3 separate regions of the Homo sapiens genome follow, and all the other regions are linked to region 3. Evidence: promoter capture Hi-C in 16 types of primary human blood cells and fetal thymus (Javierre and others, 2016). All regions are on one chromosome and are shown on one strand. The core of a region is centred on a gene start or on the middle of the fragment in contact, and the rest is flanking DNA. Distances in the headings are between cores, read along the strand shown.

Evidence for each region. Contacts are between HindIII fragments. The CHiCAGO score rates a contact against its expected background, and 5 or more counts as called.
Region 1: a fragment that was not itself captured here is called in contact with the fragment with the promoter of SPRY2 in region 3 in 1 of 17 cell types (M2 macrophages); the score reaches 5.6 in M2 macrophages.
Region 2: a contact is called between a fragment that was not itself captured here and the fragment with the promoter of SPRY2 in region 3, in 1 of 17 cell types (naive B cells). The highest score is 5.1, in naive B cells.

What each region holds. Positions count from the first base shown.
Region 1 is chr13:80,064,171-80,067,879 of GRCh38, reverse strand. No RefSeq gene overlaps it. Among named protein-coding and RNA genes, the nearest start is that of LINC01080, 55 kb to the right of the region's middle. The HindIII fragment of the contact is 8,120 bases long and covers 1-3,709 here.
Region 2 is chr13:80,618,255-80,621,802 of GRCh38, reverse strand. It overlaps the pseudogene HNRNPA1P31. Among named protein-coding and RNA genes, the nearest start is that of SPRY2, 280 kb to the right of the region's middle. The HindIII fragment of the contact is 222 bases long and covers 1,679-1,900 here.
Region 3 is chr13:80,338,640-80,342,478 of GRCh38, reverse strand. It overlaps SPRY2 (sprouty RTK signaling antagonist 2), which reads left to right and starts at 1,353. Exons shown (of 2, transcript NM_005842.4): 1 at 1,353-1,857. RefSeq lists silencers at 936-985, 1,216-1,405 and an enhancer at 3,500-3,549. The HindIII fragment of the contact is 9,098 bases long and covers 1-3,839 here.

The DNA.
Region 1 (3,709 bases), core at 611-3,110, 280 kb after region 3:
CAATACACTCCTAAGGACAGAAAATATATCTTATATTTTTGCTGGTTGTTTTCAGTGCCTAGCTACTAGAATCTAGCATAATGCTGGCCATATCTTATTTGAGTATCCCAAAACCTTACCGATTATTTGATAATTAGAAAAGTTCTTATTTTTCAAATGTAACGATGAATTAATTTCTTTAAAATATTAGATATCTCCCTTACAATGTTAAGGATAAGTTAGCACCTACAGTAAAATATTGAGGATAAGGGAAGTTGATCTATAGCAGGAGTTCAAAACTTGGTTCCAAATCTTAACTCCAACTCTAAGCTGTGCGAACTTAGAAAATTTTAGTATCTTCTTTGAATCCCAGTTCTACATTGATAATGCAGAAATATATTAATACTGTTTTGAAAATTGAATGAAGTTATGTGTGAAAAGCATATGATATTTGATATGGTTTGGCTCTGTGTTCCCACCCAAATCTCATATCGAATTGTAATTTCCAATGTTGTTGGCCGACTTCCCCTTTGCTGATCTCGTGATAGTGAGTTCTCACAAGATCTGATTGTTTAAAAGTGTGTAGCACTTCCCTCTTCATGCTCTCTCTTTTGCTCTGTCATGGTAAGATGTGCTTGCTTCCCCTTTGCCTTCCACCATATTGTAAGTTTCCTGGGGGCCTCCCAGCCATGCTTCCAGTATAGCCTGCAGAACTGTGAATCAATGAAACTCTTTTCTTCATAAATTACCCAGTCTCAGGTAGTTTTTTATAGTAGTGTGAGAATGGACTAAAACACCAGGCACGGTGGCTCACACCTGTAATCCCAGCACTTTGGGAGGCTGAGGCGGGCGGATGACAAGGTCAGCAGATCGAGACTATCCTGGCTAACATGGTGAAACCCTGTCTCTACTTAAAAAAAAATACAGAACATTAGCCAGGCGTGGTGGCAGGCACCTGTAGTCCCAACTACTCGGGAGGCTGAGGCAGGAGAATGGAGTGAACCCAGGAGGCGGAGGTTGCAGTGAACTGAGATTGTGCCATTGCACTCCAGCCTGGGTGAGAGAGCGAGACTCTCTCTCAAAAAAAAAAGAGAATGGACTAATACAATATTCATCTATTCTTCATTAATTTATCCAACATGTCAGGAGGTCATGAGAGAACTGGATAAGAAGAAATTGAAATTTAATGCAAGTTAAAGGATTTCTCTTTCTTTCTTTCTTTCTTTTTCTTTCTTTCTTCTTTCTTCTCTCTCCCTCCCCTCCCCTCCCCTCCCCTCCCTCCCTCCATCCCTCCCTCCCTCCCTCCCTCCCTTCCTCCCTTCCTTCCTTCATTCCTTCCTTCCTTCCTTCCTTCCTTCTTTCTTTCTCTCCCTCTCTCCCTCCTTCCCTCCTTGCCTTTCTTCTTTCTTTTCTGCTTGCAGGCCCTATCCGGAGAGTTTCCAGGAAGAAGTAGCTCTATAAATTTCCTCACAACCTCAATCAACATTTGAGTTGAGATTCACAATTAAAATTGGAGTCAAAGGATTGAATCTGGAAAAGCCATTTAACTATATGGGCTGTATTTTTAAAAATTTGCCCAATGAGAGGAGATTTAATGATTTTCAAAATCCCTCTGTACTTGATATTTTGTGAATTAAATTTTCCATAAGCCAAATGTCAGATAAATCACTTTCCACTTCATCTACTGGAGACATTACCCCCATTAGGCTCCATTCTCATAATTATCTTACTTCTACTGGATTTTCTCCTCAGCCTGGTAAAGATTTTCAAACCTTTACTATCTTAATGAAAAACAAGACAAATAATATTCTTCGAAAAGCCTCAACATGCACTCAAGTGTTTTCTTTTTTTTTGGCTATCACTTTATATTTCATCTTCCCTTTTAGTCAAGCCTCTGAGTAGAATAGTCATTTAGTCAGCTATCCCTGGCAGCCCCTGGTAAACAAGTCAGCATGCTAGGCATTGTGCCTCTTTCTTGGTTGTAGGAGGGCCAAATGCAGCAACTCATCCTTCACCTTAAAAGGAGTATCTCAACAGGCCCCTTGCCACTGGACCCCTAGAAATTTTACTGAGATAGAAGTTCCCTGAATTTTAGTCAGATTTATTTCCCATCCTCTAGCATGCAAATGTCTCAACCAATAAGTCCAGTGTGTTTGCTACTTCTTGCTCCCCTGGTGATATTGTTCTCGGGTATATATTTGGAAAATATATGAACCCCACTTGTCTTTAAGGAGCAGTGAATAGGACATATTGTGTGGTCATCTACTTCTTTATGTTTGAATTTTGTATAAGTGTGTATATTTGAACAATCAAGTAAGTAATTAGGACAGATAAGGAAATTAAATCAGTGGAGATATACGAGTTGCTGTATAGATGATGTAGGAATATGCTAATTGTGTAGTGCTGAAGAACACCTATGTTGAAAAAAAAGATATGTATCTTAGGAATATGTTTTTCAATTCTTTTCCTGTGCTTAACAAATTGTGATGGTTAATTCTGAGTGTCAACTTGATAAGAATGAAGGATACAAAGTGTGGGTGTATCTGTGAGAGATGTTGCCTGGAGCTTCCAAGGTCAGTAATATACCTTTACTGTCCTACCTCAGGGGTATATCAACTTTGTGTCATAATCTTATTCTAAGAGACCTGGATCACCTTTTGCTTCTGCAAGATATCACACTGGTCCATTACATTGATGACATTATGCTGATTGGATCCAGTGAGCTAGAAGTAGCAAACACACTGGACTTATTGGTGAGACATTTGCATGCTAGAGGATGGGAAATAAATCTGACTAAAATTCAGGGAACTTCTACTTCAGTAAAATTTCTAGGGGTCCAGTGGCAAGAGGCCTGCTGAGGTATTCCTTTTAAGGTGAAGGATGAGTTGCTGCATTTGGCCCTCCTACAACCAAGAAAGAGGCACAATGCCTAGTGGGCCTATTTGGACTTTGGAGGCAACATATTCTTCATTTGACTGTGTTATTCCAGCCCATTTACTGAGTGACCCAAAAGGCTGCCAGTTTTGAGTGGGGTCCAGAACAGAAGAAGGCTCTGCAACAGGTCCAGGCTGCTGTGCAAACAGCCCTGCCACTTGGGCCATATGACCCAGCAGATCCAATGGTGCTTGAGGTGTCAGTGGCAGATAGGGATGCTGTTTGGAGCCTCTGGCAGGCCCCCATAGGTGAATCACAGCAGAAGCCTCTAGGATTTTGGAACAAGACCCTGCCATCTTCTGCAGATAACAGCTCTCCTTTTGAGAGACAGCTCTTGGCCTGTTACTGGGCTTTGGTGGAGACTGAACGTTTGACTATGGGTCATCAAGTCACCATGAGACCTGAACCGCCTATCATGAACTGAGTGCTTTCTGAACCATCTAGCCATAAAGTGGGTCATGCACAGCAGCATTCCATCATCAAATGGAAGTGGCATATACATGATCGGGCTCGAGCAGGTCCTGAAGGTGCAAGTAAGTTACATGAGGAAGTGACTCGAATGCTTATGGTCTCCACTACTGCCACCTTGCCTTCTCTCCCCCAGCCTGCACCGATGGCCTCATGGGGAGTTCCCTATGATCAGTTGACAGAGGAGGAGAAGACTAGGACCTGGTTCACAGATGGTTCTGCATGATATGCAAGCACCACCTAAAAGTGGACAGCTGCAGCACTACAGCCCCTTTCTAGGACATCCCTGAAGGACAACAGTGAAGGGAATCTTCCAAGTGGGCAGAAC
Region 2 (3,548 bases), core at 540-3,039, 280 kb before region 3:
TGCCTCAGCCTCCTGAGTAGCTGGGATTTTGGGTGCTCTCCACCACGCCCGGCTTATTTTTGTATTTTTAGTAGAGACAGAGTTTCACCATGTTGCCCAGGCTGGTCTTGAACTCCTGACCTCAAATGTTCCACCCGCCTTGGCCTCCCAAAGTGGAAAACTTAAAGTTTTTAAAGACTCCCTTTTATCACTTCTCAGATGATCTTTACACACTGATAATGACTGGGAGAAAGACAATTTGGGTACCTGGTAACAATTGTTTTGAGAGGTAAGGTGGTAGGCTAAATGTGGGAGACACAGTCAGTGTACCAAGAATAGTAAGAACACAACCCACTCAACAAATTCCAAAAATATATATGTATTTTTTTAATCGGGTAGATAAATTCATCATTAAAGGAAAACTTTCTTCCCACAGTAAGCAGAATCCCCTTCAATATTCCCAAGAAAAGAATCCAGGCCTAGGGATGACATACTCATCCAGGCCAATTCTAGACTCACTGCATGTCATGGTAGTAAATGCAGTACAAGCTCACATGTACAGGGAATACAAATATTTCATCAGTTTCTTTCTGTTGAATTAAAAATAATCTTAGCTCTTCAGAAATATGCATATTTATAACTTTGTTGAAAGTGTTAAGAACAGACTATTCTTTTCATCTATTTAAATCTGAGCCTCAACTTTCTTAAAAATTTGCAGTAATTATTTCTAGGAAATATATTCTTAAATAATAATACATTAAAAATTTTTATAATTATTATTTCCTCTCCTGATACATTCATTCATTTTATTAAAAGGACGCAATCGTGAAAGAGGACAAAAAAGCCTAATCCCAAGATTTTCTGAGAGCAGGGAGCCTGATCTCTTTGAGATGAACGAGCTGTCCCTAAAATCAACATTGTAAATGACATCTTTCCTTTTCTTCCACTTTCTAGCAGAAGGATTCTAACTCTGAAATGCTAGGTTGTGTCCTGGTGATTCTGTTGCTGGTGATTCTTGCAGATATCAAAAAGGGGCCCTACAGTCAGAGTTGAGCCTATTCAGAAACAATGCTTTGAATTTGTGGAAAATAGAAAGAGACTGCCTACCAAGACCCTATTATTTGCATGATTAAACGGAACATTTTTATAAATACTGATATGTATATTTGTGTGTGTGTGTATATATATATATATATGGCTTTATTATGATCTGTTTTCCTTTTTGCAGTGTTTGTCATCTTAATTATGATTTAGATAAATAAAAAGCAGTGATAATAAATACTAACATTTCTTAAGCACTTGCTGCCATACACTATTTTAAGTACACAACAGGTGATATTTAATTGTCACTACTACCATATACAATAGTTGCAATATTACCTCTATTTTACCGATGAGCAATCTGATTCATTAGCTTGGCCAAATTTCATTGGTCAGGAATGGCAGAACTGCAGTGGACATTCAAGCATGACAAACCCTGGAGTATCTCTTCAAAACTTTCTTTTCTCTTTTTTCTACTACCCTCATAGACCCACCATTATTCGTTCATTCATTTTTGTTTGTCATCGTTTTTTGGAATCTATTTTCCCCACTGTTACTTAAGAGAACCTCGGGCACAGGAAGCCAAATAATACAGGATTTACAATACCAAAAGTGTTGCATTACATTTTACTTTTTGATAGTTAAAAGTTTTCAAGCTTTCTACTGGTGAATGCCATGGAGAAAGCATCTCTAAATCTCTTCTCCTGCTGCCATCATGTCTAAGTCAGAGTCTCCTAAAGAGCCTAAACAGCTGAGGAAACTCTTCATCTGTTTGAAGGTTGCGCTTTAAAACAACCAATGAGTCTGAGAAGCCATTCTGAGCAATGGAGAATGCTTACTGGACTGTACAGCAATAAGTGATCCAAATGCTCGGGAAGCTTTGGGTTTGTCACATATGCCACTGTGGTGGAGGTGGGTGGAAGTGGATGCAGCTTGAATGCAAGGACACACAGGTGGATGAAGGAGTTGTGGAACCAAACAGGGTTGTCTCAAGAGAAGATTCTCAAACACCAGGGGCCTGCTTAACTGTAAAAAAAGATCTTTATTGGTGGCATTAAAGAAGACACTGAAAAATAATGCCTAAGTAATTATTTTGAACAGTATGTAAACATTAAAGTGATTGAAATCATAACTGTCTGAGGCAATGGCAAGAAGAGGGGCTCTGCTTCTGTAACCTCTGATGACCATGCCTACATGGATAAGACTGTCATTTGGAAATACTATCCTTTGAATGGCCACAACTGTGAAGTAAAAAAGTTCTGTCTGAACAAGAAATGGCTGGTGCTTTATCCAGCCAAAGAGGTTAAAGTAGTTCTGGAAGCTTTGGCTGAAGTTGTGGAGGTAATTCCGATGGGGATGACAACTTGAGTCATGGAGGAAGCCACAGTGGTTGAGGAGGTTTTGGTAGCAATCATGGTGGTGGTGGATACAGTGACAGTGGGCATGGCTATAATGGAATTGATAATGATGGGAGCAGTTTGAGACGTGGTTGAAACTACAAGGATTTTGGCAATTACAATAAGCAATCCTTAAATTTTGAAGCCACGAGGGGAGAAAACTTTGGAGGCAGAAGCTCTAGACCCTTTAATGGTGGAAGTCAACACTTTGCCCAACCACAAAACCATAGTGGCTACAATGATGGTTCCAATAGCAGCAGTAGTTATGACAGTGGCAGAAGGTTTTAATTTCTGCCAGGAAACAAAGTTTAGTGGAGAAAAGAGCCAGAGAAGTGACAGGAAAGTTACAGTTTACAACAGATTTGTGAATTCAGCCAAGCCCTGTGGTGGCAGGACATAGCTGCTACAAGACATGCCTTAGACAATACTCATGTGTATGGGCAAAAGACTCAAGAACTAAATTTGTAACTAATTGCATAACAGGTTATTTTAGTTTCTGCTTTGTGGAAAACATACGGCATTCCAACAAAATGTTTAATGTAGATTTTTTTTTGCACCCATGCTGCTGATTGCTAAACATAATAGGCTAATGGTGACACTGAAAAAATGTCTTTTTAAAAAAAAGCTTTCAAAAGCAAATTTTCCTTTAACGTACATACCACCTTAAAGGTTTGGCATCTACCTCCTAATTTTCCTCAGTGCCATTGTCTTAGTTTGTTTTACTATAAAGGAATACCTGAGGGTGGGTAGTCTATAAAAGAAAATAATGTATTTGGCTCATGATCCGGATGTCTGCAAAAGTTCAAGATTGGGCATCTGCACCTGGCAAGGGCCAAAGGCTGCTTCCACTCATGGCAGAAGGTGAAGGGGAGATGGCGTGTGCAGAGATCACATGGTGAGAGAGAAGCAAGGGCAAGAGGGAAGGTGCCTGACTCCTTTTATCAACCAGCTCTTCTGGAAACTAATAGAGTGAGAGTGAGATCTCACTCATGTGACCTCCCCCAGGAAGGGGATTAATCTATTCACGAGGGAGCTGCCTTCATGACCCAAATACCTCCCATTAGTCCCCATTTCTAACATTACAGATCAAATTTCAACATGAGGTTTCAGGGGACAAATATCCAAACTACA
Region 3 (3,839 bases), core at 104-2,603:
ATGCGCAAGTTTTAATTTTCCACTGGTGCTCCCACGTGAAGGCACATTTCTTAGTAAATGAACGGCAGCTAGGACAGTGCATATGTATGCATTTTCTATCTTTATTTTTTTTTTGTAAATGGGAAAGAATAGTGCACCTTCAACATGGACAACAGAATCTTGAGAAATGTTCTAGGTGGCAAGAAAAGTGGGAAATGAAGGATGACTTTTAGTTAAGGGAAGAAGGAAATCTGCAGTGAGCCAACCCTTCCCTCCCCCCCGCCCCCCCATTTCGGAAGCCCATGCTGTCGCCCTGAGTAATCTTGTTCCTGTCTATTAATGAATTAAGTTAAAAGGCTTAGACTGTAGACTTTAGCTACTGCATGAAGCAAAATAGTAAGGAAGCTCTTCAAAAAGCCTCCATTCATAGATAACCCCCCTTAAAAATGAAATTCTAATAAACGGAAAAACTACAAGTCGACACAATCAAAAGCAAATCCCAGCAAGAGCAGAAGGTACTTGAAACTCGAATCTGCATTCCGTTCCTCCCGTACAAGGCTCGGAGGTGGGGGAGGCGGTTTGTGCTGGTGCCTGGTGTATAATCGGGTTAATCCAGTAGACAAAGAATAAACCAATAGCCCTCCCACCTCACTTCCCGCTCCCCTTCCCCTCCCCCTTCTTCTCCCCCCGCCCCAGCCCCCGTCACCCGCTCCGCAAAGGGGAACAGAAAAGGGGAGAGGTAGACTTGAAATGGATTCTGGATAAAGTCTTAAAACCTGCAACTTGTTTTTCATGCTAACACTGCGTGGCCCAGATTAGTCTTAAATGTTCATTCCCCTTTCCTGGTGGCAAGGAGAAAGTTCCCTAAGTCAGCTCGAGCCTCTGGCTCGTCCTCATTGCCTCTGGGCAAACCTTAAGGTCAGTGTTTCCTTGAAACTAGATAAACTGACCCTGCAGTGCCCAGCCCGGCCCCGCGGGCGCCCCGCGTGACGGCGCTCGGGCGGCAGGACCGGCCTGGGGACGCGCGGGGCGGCGCGGTTGCCCTTTTGAATGCCTCCTGCGGCTCGGAGCGCTGGCGGGCGCTGGAGTGTGAGTGAATGTAGCCCCGCGGAGCCAATGAGCTGGGACCGGATGCGATATATCCTCTGGGACAACAACTGCTCTGTTCCGCCTCGGATCCACATGACGCCATTTACTGCTGCCGCGGCCGCCGCAGAGCTCCCTGCCTCCTCCGGAAAGGCGAGGGCGCAGGCCAACGGCGAGCCCCCCCCGGGCGGGCCCCAGACCCTCCTCCTCCTCCTCCTCCTCCTCTTCCTCCTCCTCCGCACCCACCGCCCCCGCCTCGGCCTCGCTGCCTCGCCTCCACAACGCCCAGTCTGCACCGCCGAGAGCTGCGCGCCGCAGCGCTAGCGGAGGAGAGGGGCCGGCGGAGCGCGCAGCGCCCAGGCCCCCGCGCCCGCCCGGCCCGGCCCGGCCCGCGCCCCCGCGCCGCCTCCGCTACGACGCGGCCCCGGCCGCACCACTTGGCGATCTGGCTTTAGGTTCTCCGTAAGGCCGTTTTCTTTTCCCATTCGCTCATCTGCCAGGAAAAGGGACTTGCCGTTGGCGCTTCGGCCTCTTGTTCATTGAGAAAAAAGAGGAAATACTCCGCGTGCGCTTGTAGAAGGGGAGTCGTCTCCAGCTCCGAACCCCGGAGTGTTCATCAGCGGGGAATCTGGCTCCGAATTCTCTTTTTTTCTCCCGCCGATTGCTCGGAAGTTGGTCTAAAGCAGAGGTTGGAAAGAAAGGAAAAAAGTTTGCATCGAGACTGGATTTATTTGCACATCGCAGAAAGAAGAGAATCCAAGGGAGAGGGGTTGGTGCAAAGCCGCGATCACGGTGAGGCACGTTTGGCTCTTCCCCTCCTGGCGCCGCGGCCGGCGCGTTGTGGGCAACATGGAGTAGGTGCAGCCGGACCAGGAGTTGGGTCCGTCTCTCCCCGAGCCTCCCTTTCTCAAATCCCGCAGGGTCTTCGCGAGGATCCGGGGCGCTCCCCGCGGACCTGCCTCGCCCGGGGCTTGGGCTCGGCCTGCCTCTGCGGGGACTTCTGTATGCACCCCGTGCAGTGTCCCCGACAGGCGACCCCGCGCGCCCGCGCTCTAGGGGGTTGGGACGGAGGACAGCTAGCCTGAAGTCTGCTCCCAGCCGTGCACTGGCCGCGAATTCGGCGCTGAGAGCGGGAGAGGGAGAGAAAAACACTTTGTATTTTCCAGGTTGCCTTTGCAGGCGCCCGCATTTCTAACCTGTTCTTCCTCTTGGTGGAAGGCAAAGTCCAGGGAGAGGCTGTCCCTAGGCGGGGCGCTGGTGGGGCTGGGGGACACAGGTTGCCCGCCTCGGGGGCAGGAGACTTCCAGGGTGAGAAAAAGGCAGGGTGCCGGGTGGAGGGAGTGCCCGCCTCTGCTCCGTGTGGACAGTCTAGCCCGGAGCGGGTGGGAGCGTCGCCCTGCCTGGCGCCGGGTCTCTGCGGTTCGGAAGTGCAGCTCTCTCTCTTCCGTTCTTCGTGGTCAGCCTGGGTCACACTTATTTTATTTTTGGAAGCTCGGGCTGACCCAGCGCAGGAAGAAAGTCATCAAGCGGTCGCGATCATTTTCCATTACCTGAAAGTAGGTGGCAAAATAGGCAATTTTTTATTTCCTTTTGTTGTTGTTGTTGCTGTGTTTTAATTTGGATTCTTGTGTGTTTTTTACAAAGCAGTTTCTGTGTCCGTTTGCCCCACCCTAGAGCTGAAGTTCTTTTCCCCTAATCCTCAGTCTGATCACACACTGTTCTTAATGGGGGTTTCAAAGCACTTTCAAAGGGGAGGGGGGACTGGGAAAGAGAAGAGGGGCGGAGGTAGGGAGTCCAGCTTTGAAGAAGGAGGCCAGGGATCGGATCGGCAGAAATCACTTAAAAAATAAAAACAAAAAAGCCCCCTTTTATTTCAAAGATGCTACTTTGACTGCAAGCAAATCTGCACCGAAAGTTTACAGCTCCGGGAGCTGGGTCCTGCGCGCCCGGAGTGAGCAGTGGGACCCTGGAAAATGCCCTTTTTTTAAAAAGCCATTTTTCTTTCACTTTAAGAAATATGATATCTTTTTTTTTTCTCTCGACCCAAAAGGAGATAGGCGTGTGCAGATTACAGGCAATGCCCCCTTCGGTCAGTGCAGCGTGGAGTCGCCGTGTGTGCGTGGGTTGGACTTGTGCGTCCTGGCTGCGTGTCTCAGGCAGGGCTTTCGTGCTCGCAGTGTCGGGGTGGGAAACCTGTGCCGGATGTCCGAGGGGCTTTGCAGAAAGCCTGGCAGTGGGCGGCGTGACCTCTGCCTGGGGGCGGAGTGGCTCCTTGGGGCTGGAAGGCAGTTCTCTTGAGTTGGGGGAGATCTTAGCTGGGGAGAGGGAGGCGGGGGAAGTGTGCTCCTGCATTTCGTGACACGTACCCTTCGGAGGCGCCCGCGGCCCCCGCCTGTCTGAGTCTGGGGATCGTAAGCAGGGGGGCAGCCTGGCCCATGGACAGCGTCAGTCCGCCTGGAGAAACTCCCCTGGGGATCGGCTGTGTCCCACCTGCTGGGGACGGTGTTGGGGCACAGAGAGGCGATAAACTAAGTGAAAGCAAAGAGCAGCGTTGTCTTCTGCCATTCTTTTGGAGGTGAGGAGATCCGGTTTCCAGCACTGCCTTGCTCCGAATTGGGAGACGTTTGTCACCTGCCTTGTTCGCTGTGGCCTCTATTCTAAAGAGCGGAGATCGGATAAAGGTCCACTTTTGCCTGTTTTATACTTTTTATTGTCATATAGGCTTGGGAAAGGGGGTGATCGTTTTGAAATTGAAGAAGGACTGCAGTTTAAGG